Linked DNA regions of Homo sapiens: region 1 is linked to region 2. The links are contacts of gene promoters, found by promoter capture Hi-C in human tissues and cell types (Jung and others, 2019). All regions are on one chromosome and are shown on one strand. The core of a region is centred on a gene start or on the middle of the fragment in contact, and the rest is flanking DNA. Distances in the headings are between cores, read along the strand shown.

What was found. Contacts are between HindIII fragments. The study calls those that stand out against the background at their distance.
Region 1: a fragment that was not itself captured here is called in contact with the fragment with the promoter of CACTIN in region 2 in 2 of the 25 tissues and cell types used here (mesendoderm cells and pancreas).

Annotation. Positions count from the first base shown.
Region 1 is chr19:3,813,778-3,819,227 of GRCh38, reverse strand. It overlaps ZFR2 (zinc finger RNA binding protein 2), which reads left to right. Exons shown (of 19, transcript NM_015174.2): 12 at 1-183; 13 at 2,383-2,554; 14 at 5,270-5,408. Among named protein-coding and RNA genes, the nearest start is that of MATK, 30 kb to the right of the region's middle. RefSeq lists silencers at 266-466, 503-797. The HindIII fragment of the contact is 9,278 bases long and covers 1-5,450 here.
Region 2 is chr19:3,622,994-3,628,262 of GRCh38, reverse strand. CACTIN (cactin, spliceosome C complex subunit) reads left to right here and starts at 1,473. Exons shown (of 10, transcript NM_001080543.2): 1 at 1,473-1,667; 2 at 4,101-4,575. The coding sequence starts at 1,501. RefSeq lists enhancers at 1,140-1,509, 1,399-1,960, 1,961-2,522, 2,523-3,084, 3,311-3,810 and 1 more. The HindIII fragment of the contact is 17,013 bases long and covers 1-5,030 here.

The DNA of each region.
Region 1 (5,450 bases), core at 2,791-5,290, 190 kb before region 2:
GCGGCCGGCGTCCAGCGACGACCGGCACGTCATGTGCAAGCACGCCACCATCTACCCCACGGAGCAGGAGCTCCTGGCCGTGCAGAGGGCCGTGTCCCACGCAGAGCGGGCCCTCAAGCTGGTGTCCGACACACTGGCCGAGGAGGACCGGGGCCGCCGAGAGGAAGAGGGTGACAAGCGCAGGTCATTGGAGATCCCCTTCCCCAGGGCCCGGCTCTCAGCCAGGACAGAGGTCAGCTCCTCGGGACGAGACCCTGCAGGAACCCCTAGCTCTGATGGGCCTGGAGCCGTCGGTGGCCCGCGGCAGCTTTCCAGCCCCAGGAGTAGGAAGTTCCCCAGGTCTCAGAGCTGGAGCTTCTCGGCACTGAACGAGGCTGGTTTGCAGCGGGTGATCCGTGCTGTTCTAATGCCTTAGCATTCCCTTTTGCTATTGAAGGCGCATCTAAAAATAGTTCACAAGGGACTGACAGTCTCTGTAAACCTCAGTTTCCTCATTGGCAAAAGGAAAAGCTGAGCGTGATTCTGACGGACTTCTCCGCCTTGGGGAGTGACTGAGTAATCAGAGTAGTTCATGTCACTGAGTGCCCGTGTGAATCAGCTCCCAACCCCTGTGATTCTTAGGAAGTGAGAAAGTCCCCACGTCGTCTAAGTAATTGCCATGGAGATAACTCATCTGAGCGGGAGTTACCTTTTTTCAAAGTCCTTTCCTGCTCTGGCAGCTGCTGTTTGTTGTTGTTGTTTTTTTGTTTGTTTTGTTTTTTAAGAAACAGATCTCACTCTGTTACCCAGGCTGGAGGGCAATGGCGCGATCAGAGCTCACTGACCCTCAGACCCCCGGGCTCAAGCTGTCCTCCCGCCTCAGCCTCCCGAGTAGCTGGGACTGCAGGCGCCCACCACCACACCCAGCTAATTGTTAACTCTTTGTAGCAGGGAGAGGTCTCGCTATGTTAGCCAGGCTGGTCTTGAACTCCCGGGCTCAAGCGATCCTCCCACCTCGGCCTCCCAAAGTGCCGGGATTACGGGTTCACTTTCCTCTTTGAATGCTTCTCTATTGTGGTAAAATCCACATCACACAACACTGAGCATTTTAACCTGTCTAAGTGCACAGTTCAGGGGCATGAAGCACGTTCACACGTGCAAACTACACCCCTGTCCATCTCCACAGCTGTCTCATCTTCCCAAACAGAAGCTCTGTCCCAATTAAGCAAACTCCTCTTTTTGTTTCGTGCACCCATGCGTGCCCGCCCTGTCTCTGTGGATTGGCCTGTGCTGGACAGTTCATAGAAATGGGGTCGCACACCGTGTGGCCTTTTGTGTCTGGCTGATCCACTTGGCCTGAGGGCTTCCTTTTGCTGGAGCACAGAGCTCCATATAGGAAATGTGAGCCTTGCACCTGTGGGTTGCAAAGTGTCCCAATACAAGGAGCGCCCAGGAAGCTGCCCTCTCCTTTTTTTTTTTTTTTTTTCTTTTTTGAGACTGAGTCTTGCTCTGTTGCCCAGGCTGGAGTGCAGTGGTGCGATCTCGGCTCACAGCAACCTCTGCCTCCCAGGTTCAAGTGATTCTCCTGCCTCAGCCTTCCAAGTACTGGAACTACAGGAATGTACCACCACACCCAGCTAATTATTATTATTATTATTATTATTATTATTATTATTATTATCATTATTTTGAGATGGAGTCTTGCTCTGTCTCCCAAACTGGAGTTCAGTGACACAATCTCGGCTCACTGCAACCTCCATCTCCTGGGTTCAAGCGATTCTCCTGCCTCAGCCTCCCAAGTAGCTGAGATTACAGGCACCCGCCACCATGCCTGGCTAATTCTTATATTTTTATTAGAGATGGGTTTTCGCCATGTTGGTCAGGCTGGTCTCAAACTCCTGACCTCAAGTGATCTGCCCACCTCGGCCTCCCAAAGTGCTGGGATTACAGGCGTGAGCCACTGCGCCCGGCCTAGGTTTGTGAATTTTCTTAACCCCCGTGAAGCAAGAGCAGAAAGCAGCCTTGCTTTCTGTCCTCTCTGGAACCCATGTGGAGCCGAAACAACAGGGTGACAGAGTCCGTGAACGCGGGAGCCACCAGACCTCGCGGGGCGGGCCTGGGGCTTAGCGTTTGCTCACAAGGAAGGAAAATGTGGGTTTGGCCACGCGTCCCGGCTACTCCGAGGCATGCCCGGTGACAGCACCTCCGAGATCGATCTCACGGTGTCTCATTTCATCCCGCAAGCGCCTCCGACAGAGCGGCCTGGTCCCATTTCATGGATGAGGATGCCGAGGCACAGAGAGGCTCTGTAACTTGCAGGGTCCCCGTAGCTCAGGAGGGAGGCAGCTGGGGTACCCCGCGTCTCTCCGCTGATGGCGCACGTCTGTGGCTTTGTCCCCACAGCAGCGTTGCCCCCCAGACTCGGGTCCTGAAAGGCGTCATGCGAGTAGGCATCCTGGCGAAAGGCCTCCTCCTGCGTGGGGACAGGAACGTGCGCCTCGCTCTGCTCTGCTCCGAGAAGCCCACGCACAGCCTGCTGCGGAGGATCGCCCAGCAGCTGCCCCGGCAGCTCCAGGTAAGGTCAGGGCCCTGCTCATCGCTGCTTCTGGCGTCTGGCTGCCAGCCCTCTCCCCGCAGCCCCTTGCGCTCCTAGATGGCAGGGGACCTTTGTTACTACACAACTTTAAGGTACAAGAAGCATTAAGCCAGGCGCAGTGGCTCACGTCCGTAATCCCAGCACTTAGGGAGGCTGAGGCAGGTGGATCGCTTGAGGTCAGGAGTTTGAAACCAGCCTGGCCAACATGGTGAAACACCGTCTCTACTAAAAATACAGAAATTAGCCAGGCCTGGTGACATGTGCCTGTAATTCCAGCTATGTGGGAGGCTGAAGTGGGAGAATCACTTAAATCCCGGAGGCAGAGGTTGCACTGAGCTGAGATTGCACTGCTGCCCTCCAGCCTGGGCGACAGAGCGAGACTGGGTCTCAAAAAAAAAAAAAAAAAAAAGATACAAGAAGAAGCATCGCTGTTAGAAACCAACCAGTTTGTTAGCCAGGCATGGTGGCTCACACCTGAAATCCCAGCACTTTGAGAGGCTGAGGCAGGAGGATCACTCGAGTCCAGGAGTTTGAGACCAGCCTGGGCAACATAGTGAGAACCTGTATCTGCAAAAAACTTAAAAATTAGCTGAGCATGGGCCAGCCGGGGTGGCTCACACCTGTAATCCCAGCACTTTGGGAGGCTGAGATGGGCAGATCACGAGGTCAGCAGATCGAGACCATCCTGGCTAACACGGTGAAACCCCGTCTCTACTAAAAATACAAAAAAAAAATTAGCCAGGCGTGGTGGCGGGCGCCTGTAGTCTCAGCTACTCGGGAGGCTGAGGCAGGAGAATGGCATGAACCCGGGAGGCAGAGGTTGCAGTGAGCCGAGATCGCGCCACTGCACTCCAGCCTGGGCGACAGAGCGAGACTCCGTCTAAAAAAAAAAAAAAAAAAAATTAGCTGAGCATGGCGGCATGTACCTGTGGTCCCAGCTACTCAGGGAGCTGAAGCGGGAGAATCCCTTGAGCCCAAGAGTTCGAGGCTTCAGTGAGCTGTGATTCACTACTGCACTCCAGCCCGGGCAACAGAGCAAAACTCAGTCTCAAAAGAAATTCAAAAAGAGTAAATGATGATGAAAGCTGCACAGAAAACATTCGCAGCAATGGCGACTAGGAAGCCGTAAGAAAAGCAAAAACCCAATTTCAATTTTAGGGCTGTGAAATGTCAACTGAATTTTTTTCCTCTAGAGAATTTTCATATACTCTTCTCATACTGAAGAATTTACATTGATCATCTTAGGTTTAAAAAGAAAAATCGGGCCTGGCGTGGTGGCTCATGCCTGTAATCCCAACACTTTGGGAGGCCAAGGCAGGTGGATCACCTGAGGTCCGGAGTTCGAGACCAGCTTGGCCATCATAGTAAAACCCCATCTGTACTAAAAATACAAAAATTAGCCGGGCATGGTGGTGGGCGCCTGTAATCCCAGCTACTCAGGAGGCTGAGGGAGGGGAACCATTTGAGCCCTGGAGGCAGAGGTTGCAGTGAGCAGAGATAGTGCCACTGCACTCTAGCCTGGGCCACAGAGTAAGACTCTGTCTTAAAAAAAAAGAAAGAAAGAAAAATGAAAAATCAGTCCCCAGAGTCGTTCCTTCTTCCTGAGCGTCTGTCACCATCCCTGGGAAAACTCAGCCTTACTCCTTTGACTTTTCCAGTGGGCACTGGATGCCCAGTGGATGGGCAGTGCCTGGTCGGGGAGACAGTGTTCCCCATAGAATGACCAGCACCTGCAGAGGCCAAAAAGCAGGAGGCCCAGAGCAAGGAGGGGTGGGCACGAGGGAATGAGGGGGCACCTAGATCAAGCCAGGCCTGAAGGCCGTACCAGGAGGTAGGATTGCATTCTTAGGGAAGTGGGGAGGCTGGAGGGTTTTGAGCAGGGGAGTGACATGCTCTGACTTCAATAATTGCATCTCACATTTCCTGCACACCTACAACATGACAGTGGCCACAACATGATAGATACAGCCCCTGCTTTCTGGAAAACTTGCAGCCTGGTGGCAAAGACAATAACTGAGCCCCATGAGAATGTATAAGGCTGTGGGGAAGCTGACAACATCCACCCCAGTAATGTCAACGGAGCCCCCTGGGGGCTGCCTTGCAGCAGGGAGGCCCTGAGAAGGGAAGGGATGGAGGATGGGGAGAGAGGTGCGTTTCAGGTGGGAGGCCAGGCTCAGGTGTGAGCACAGGCCTCATGGAGGGTGATGACCATGGACAGGAAGACCAGACTGTGACACAGACCTCTTGAGCTATGTCCTGCTCACAGGAGATGGTGGCGTCTCATTATGGTTTTAGTTTACTCCTCCCTGACTATGGGGTAATGTGTGTCACTGTGTAAAAAGGGCCATTTGTGTTTCTTTTTCTGCCAGGTATCTGTTATTTCACTCACCAATTTTTTTATTGGATTGCTGGTCTTCTTGTTATTGAATTACAGGTATTCTTTACATATGGAGGCTCCTTGCATCACATGATCTGTTGTCTGTACATATCTCTACATGTGTGCACTCCTGGAGGGCTGCGGCTGTGTCTTGGTCACTTGGAGGTTCCAGACACAGGGCACAGGGCCCGGCACCCAGGCAGCAAGTGTGGGAGGCCCGACGGGATTAATTTACACACACCAACCACATCCTGGCTGATTTACACATGAATCTGGGCTGCAGTAAGGTGGCCTTGTGTTGTATTTACCCCTCCCAGATGGTGACCGAGGATGAGTATGAGGTCTCCTCCGACCCTGAAGCCAACATTGTCATCTCCTCCTGTGAGGAGCCCAGGATGCAGGTCACCATATCTGTCACCTCACCTCTGATGCGGGAGGACCCCTCCACAGACCCAGGTGCGGCCCAGCCCTTCCTTCCAACCACTGTCCCCCTCACGC
Region 2 (5,269 bases), core at 224-2,723:
GCCTCAGCCTCCCGAGTAGCTGGAATTACAAGCATGCCACCATGCCCAGCTAATTTTTGTATTTTTAGTAGAGACGGGGTTTCGCCATGTTGGACAGGCTGGTCTCGAACTCCTGACCTCAAGATCCACCTGCCACGGCCTCCCAAAGTGTTGGGATTACAGGCATGAGCCACTGCACCCCACTCAAGATAAACATTTTAATTTTCTTTTTTTTTTTGAGACGGAGTCTTGCTCTATCGCCGAGGCCATAGCGCAGTGGCACGATCTCGGCTCACTGCGACCTCCGCCTCCCAGGTTCAAGCAATTCTCCCTGCCTCAACCTCCCAAGTAGCTGGGATCACAGGTGCATGCCACCACACCCGGCTAATTTTTGTATTATTTAGTAGAGATAGGGTTTCACCATATTGGCCAGGCTGGTCTTGAACTCCCGACCTCAGGTGATCCGCCCGCCTCGGCCTCTCAAAGTGCTGGGGTTACAGGCGTGAGCCACCGTGCCCGGCCAAGATAAATATTTTAAAAGTTAGCTTAAATTACTATCATCCTCCATAAACAGGCCTTCCCAGCCCCGAGTGGTTAGAACTGCACGGGGTGGTGGTAGCAGCCACCATGGGCTAGGGGAGCTCAGGATGGGACATCAGCGTCTTCTAGGTCTCTGGCCTCCAGCCTTGCCCCTGAAGTCCGTCCTCCCACGCCAAACTTGTTTCAACAGCAAGTCCCCCAAACCCTGCTCACAACCCTCCCACGGGTCCCCAGCACCCACACCACAAAGCTGGGCAGCCTGGGTTGAGAAGGCAAGTGTTAAGAGTGACTTTCCCTCTCTGAGCCTCAGTTTCCCCGTCTCTAAAATGGGTTGATGGGGGAATACAGGGAGTTATCAAAGTTTTTGTTTTTTTTTAAAGCTTAACTCCCAAAATACATAGGTGTTCATTGGCAGGTGGTGGAGCATAACGATGACTCTCATAAGAAGGCTTTTCAGTTTCTGTCCCCGCGCCCGCCCTCTGCCCTCTGGAGCTGCCTGGCACCTAACACCTTCCCGGTTCCTCGCCTTTCGGGGACCTCGCTCCCCGGACACGCCTCTCCTCGGCCACGCCCCTGGCCACGCCAATGAAGCGCTACTTCCGACCTAGACCCGCTTCTTATTGGTCTCGCCTCGGCAGGCCCCTCCCTGCACAAGGTTCCTAGTTTGCCCTTGCCCCGCCCACAGTTTCTCAGGCCCCCTGAGGCGTGGGGACCCGCCTAGGGCTGCCTCCAGCACTGCCTGAAAGGAGACTCCGCCACCCTGGAGGCAACAATCCCACTGGAGTCAATCACGCGGTCCACATTTGCAGACGTAGTGGAAAGTCTGGGGTGTCGGAGTCCTTGCGGGCTGGGGCGACGGGATGGGTTGCTCTTTCCCGGCTCAGGCGCAAACGGGGCAGCCTGGAGAGCGCCGTGGGCGAGGAAGGCCCCCAGCGCAGGCTTCGGCTATTGGTGTTGGTGCCGCGGCCACTGGCCCAGCCGATGGGTCGGGACACACGCTCGCGCTCGCGGTCCGCGGGTCGCCGGGGCCGAAGGCGGCAGAGTCAGAGCGGGAGCCGAAGTCGGAGCAGGAGCCATGGGCGGCGAAACCGACGGCGCCGGGAGGACGAGGGACGGCGCAGACGGAGGCGGCGGAGCCGGGAGCGCAGGTGGGGTCGCTGCGGGAGCAGCGCTGGGGATCCGGCTCCTACCTCAGGAGCGCCCGACCGAGGGTTGGAGATCCCGGGGAACCGGGAAACCCCCGACTTACTCGGGGAGGGCTTCCTAGAGAAGGGGACAATTGACCACCGGTTGGAATTAACCTGGCAGCGGAAGGAAGGCGAGAGGCGTTCCAGGCAGGGGACCGGGCGGTTGGAGGGACAGCCCGGAGCCGGGTGAGCGAGGCGGCGGGGAGGTAACGAGAGATCAGATCATATCATATCGAGCCCTGTGTGCTCAGCACATTAGATCTTGGCTATTAGTCGGAGGGAAATGGAGAGTCTTGAGAGGAGTTTGGGTAGGGGAGTGACGTGGACTGACTTAACTCTGCATACTTTCTGGCTTTGAGGTGGAGAAGGGATGGAGCGGGGTAGGCAGGAGCGGCATCAGAGTAGGACGGCACAATTGTCCAGACAGTAGATGATGGCAGTCTCGATGGGAGGGAGGCTGTAGTCAACCACAGCGGGCAAAGTGCGTAGATTTCAGAGGGATTCTGGAAGTAGAGGAGACAACATTTGCTAATGGAGGTGGGCTGTGGGAGGGAAAAAGACTCGGTGTCAGCTGGCAGGACTCACAGCTGATTCCTAGTGCCTGAATCTCAGCTTCCCCATGGTCCTTTTCTTCTGGAGATGGGGCACTTGGTCGGATTTGCCTTGAGCCGGCTCCAGTACAGAGAAACCAAAATGGGGACAGGGACTGATTCCCAGACCGGGGCCCCAGTGCTGGCTCAGCCCCTTCGTGGCTGACACTCAGGCCAGTCTTGCCCCGCTCTGGGCCAAGTTCACTCATCGGTTGTTGGTTTTTTTGTTTGTTTGTTTTTGAGACGGAGTCTTGCTCTGTCGCCCAGGCTGGGGTGCAGTGGCACGATCTCGGCTGTTACCTCTGCCTCCTGGGTTCAAGCGATTCTTCAGCCTCAGCCTCCCCGGTAGCTGGGGTTACAGGTGCTTGTTGCCACACCCAGCTAATTTTTGAATTTTTTCGTAGAGCTGGGATTTCTCCATATTGGCCAGGCAGGTCTTGAACTCCTGGCCTCAAGTGATCTGCCCGCCTCGGCCTCCCAAAGTGCTGGGATTACAGGCGTGAGCCACCGCGCCTGCCCATAAGTCTTGTTAATGTCATCTTTGTGTTTTTTCGCCTACCATTTTCTGGTATTGGAATTATTCACAATAATTTGCCACTCTAGATATGTAATTAGAATTAATGTTCACGAAAATTCAGTTGAACTTGTGGCCAATATTTAAGGGCTCTGCAATGATTGGTTTCAACATAGTTTAGATTTTTTTGACATGAGCTTAATGGGTAGAGCATTTAACAAAATATTTGGCAGTTCTCTGTGTACAAAGACCCCTAAACGTGACTGAGCGCAGTGGCTCACATCTGTAATCCCAACACTTTGGGAGGCTGAGACAGGAGGCTTGCCTGAGCCCAGGAGTTCAAGACCAGCCTGGGCAACATAGCAAGACCCCTCTGTACAAAAAAATGTAAAGAGTTACCTGGGCGTGGTGGTGTGTGCCTGTAGTCCCCGCTACTCAGGAGGCTGAGGCGAGAGGATGGCTTGAGCCCAGGAGGTCAAGGCTGCAGTGAGCTCTGATCATGCACTCCAGCCTGTGTGACAGAGGGAGACTCTGTCTCTAATAAATAAAAATATAGACCTTGTCTCTAGTAGACTCTGTGTCTAGTAGACCTTGTCTCTAATAAATAAAATTAAAGGCCCCTGAACCACCCCTGAGGTTGTGCATCTTCCATTCCCTGCGCTCTACTCTGTTAACTCCTGTCCATCCTGTGGGACTAGTTCAAATACCACTTCCATCTAGGAAGCCCTCCCTTGACAGCCTAAATGTGTTCGGGTCCCCTGGTTCGTACCCTTATAATTCCTGCGCCACCAGCCCCAGCCACCTCCCTGCCCGCGCCTCCTCCCTCTCCCCCACACTCTGTCTCAGCCATACAGCCTCCTTGTTGTTCTTAGAATGTGGCAGGTCAGTGCCTGCCTCTAGGCCCTCGCTCTTGCTCTGCCTCGAGCACTCTCCCTCCGAATCCACCCATCGCTGCCTCCCCACTCCCTCCAGACCTTGGCTCAGTGTCAGCTCCTGAGAGAGCCCCTCTCTGACCTCGGCCCTGCAGCCCCAGCCCCTGTGCTCGGCATTGCTACTCTTTGTGGCTTCTGCCTCTGCCTAGTGTTGCGTGGTGTGTTTATTTGTTGATGTCTTCCTTGTTGGGGCCCACCAGAGGGTGAGCCCAGGAAGGCAGAAGCCATCGGTATTTGGGTCACTGCTGTGTCCCCAGAACCTAGAACAGTGCCTGCTCCCCCACGGGCACCCAGTAAGCATCTGTGGAGCAGATGACAGCTGCAGGCACTGAGCAGGCATCCATGGTCCTCTCCGCAGGTCAGATTCAGAGGAAGAGCGGTGGCAGCGCTCAGGGATGCGAAGCCGGAGCCCCCCGCGGCCCAAGTGGCACTCAAGAGATGGGTCCTCTCAGTCGGACTCAGGAGAGGAGCAGTCACGGGGCCAGTGGGCTCGCCGGCGACGGCGCGCACGCTCGTGGTCTCCTAGCTCCTCAGCATCCAGCTCCGCGTCTCCAGGGCGATCCCAGAGCCCCCGGGCGGCCGCGGCTGCCCTGAGCCAGCAGCAGAGCCTGCAGGAGCGGCTGCGGCTGCGGGAGGAGCGGAAGCAGCAGGAGGAGCTGATGAAGGCCTTCGAGACGCCCGAGGAGAAGCGCGCACGGCGGCTGGCCAAGAAGGAGGCCAAGGAGCGCAAGAAGCGGGAGAAGATGGGCTGGGGTGAGGAGTACATGGGCTACACCAACACCGACAACCCCTTCGGAGACAACAACCTGCTGGGCACCTTCATCTGGAATAAGGTGGGCCCCGCCGGGTGGTGGCCTCTGTCCCTGTAGCATTTCCACTGTTTCTGGAGACCCCAACACTTGAGACACTCCCAGCCTGCCCTTGATCGTGCAAGAGTTGGTTTTACACACACACGCATAAGCAAGCTTCTGCCGCTATCAGCTTTCTTTTTTGACACAGGGTCTCGCTCTGTCGCCCAGGCTGGAGTGAAGTGGTGTGATCTCGGCTCACTGCAAGCTCCACCTCCCGGGTTCATGCCATTCTCCTGCCTCAGCCTCCTGAGTAGCTGGGGCTACAGGCGCCCGCTACCACGCCCGGCTAATTTTTTGTATTTTTAGTAGAGACAGGGTTTCACCATGTTAGCCAGGATGGTCTCGATCTCCTGACCTTGTGATCCACCCGCCTTGGCCTCCCAAAGTGCTGGGATTACAGGCGTGAGCCACCACGCCCGGCCAGCTTTCTTTTTTGACTCAGGGTCTCGCTCTGTCACCCAGGCTGGAGTGCAGTGGCGTGATCGTGGCTAACTGCAGCCTTGACCTCCTGGCCTCAAGCGATCCTCCTACCTCAGCGTTTTGACTTGCTGGGACTACAGGCACCACCACCATGCCCGGCTAATTTTTTATTTTTTTGTAAAGATGGAGTCTCACTATGTTGGCCAGGCTGGTCTCGAACTCCTAAGCTCAAGTGATTTTCCCACCTCGGCCTCCC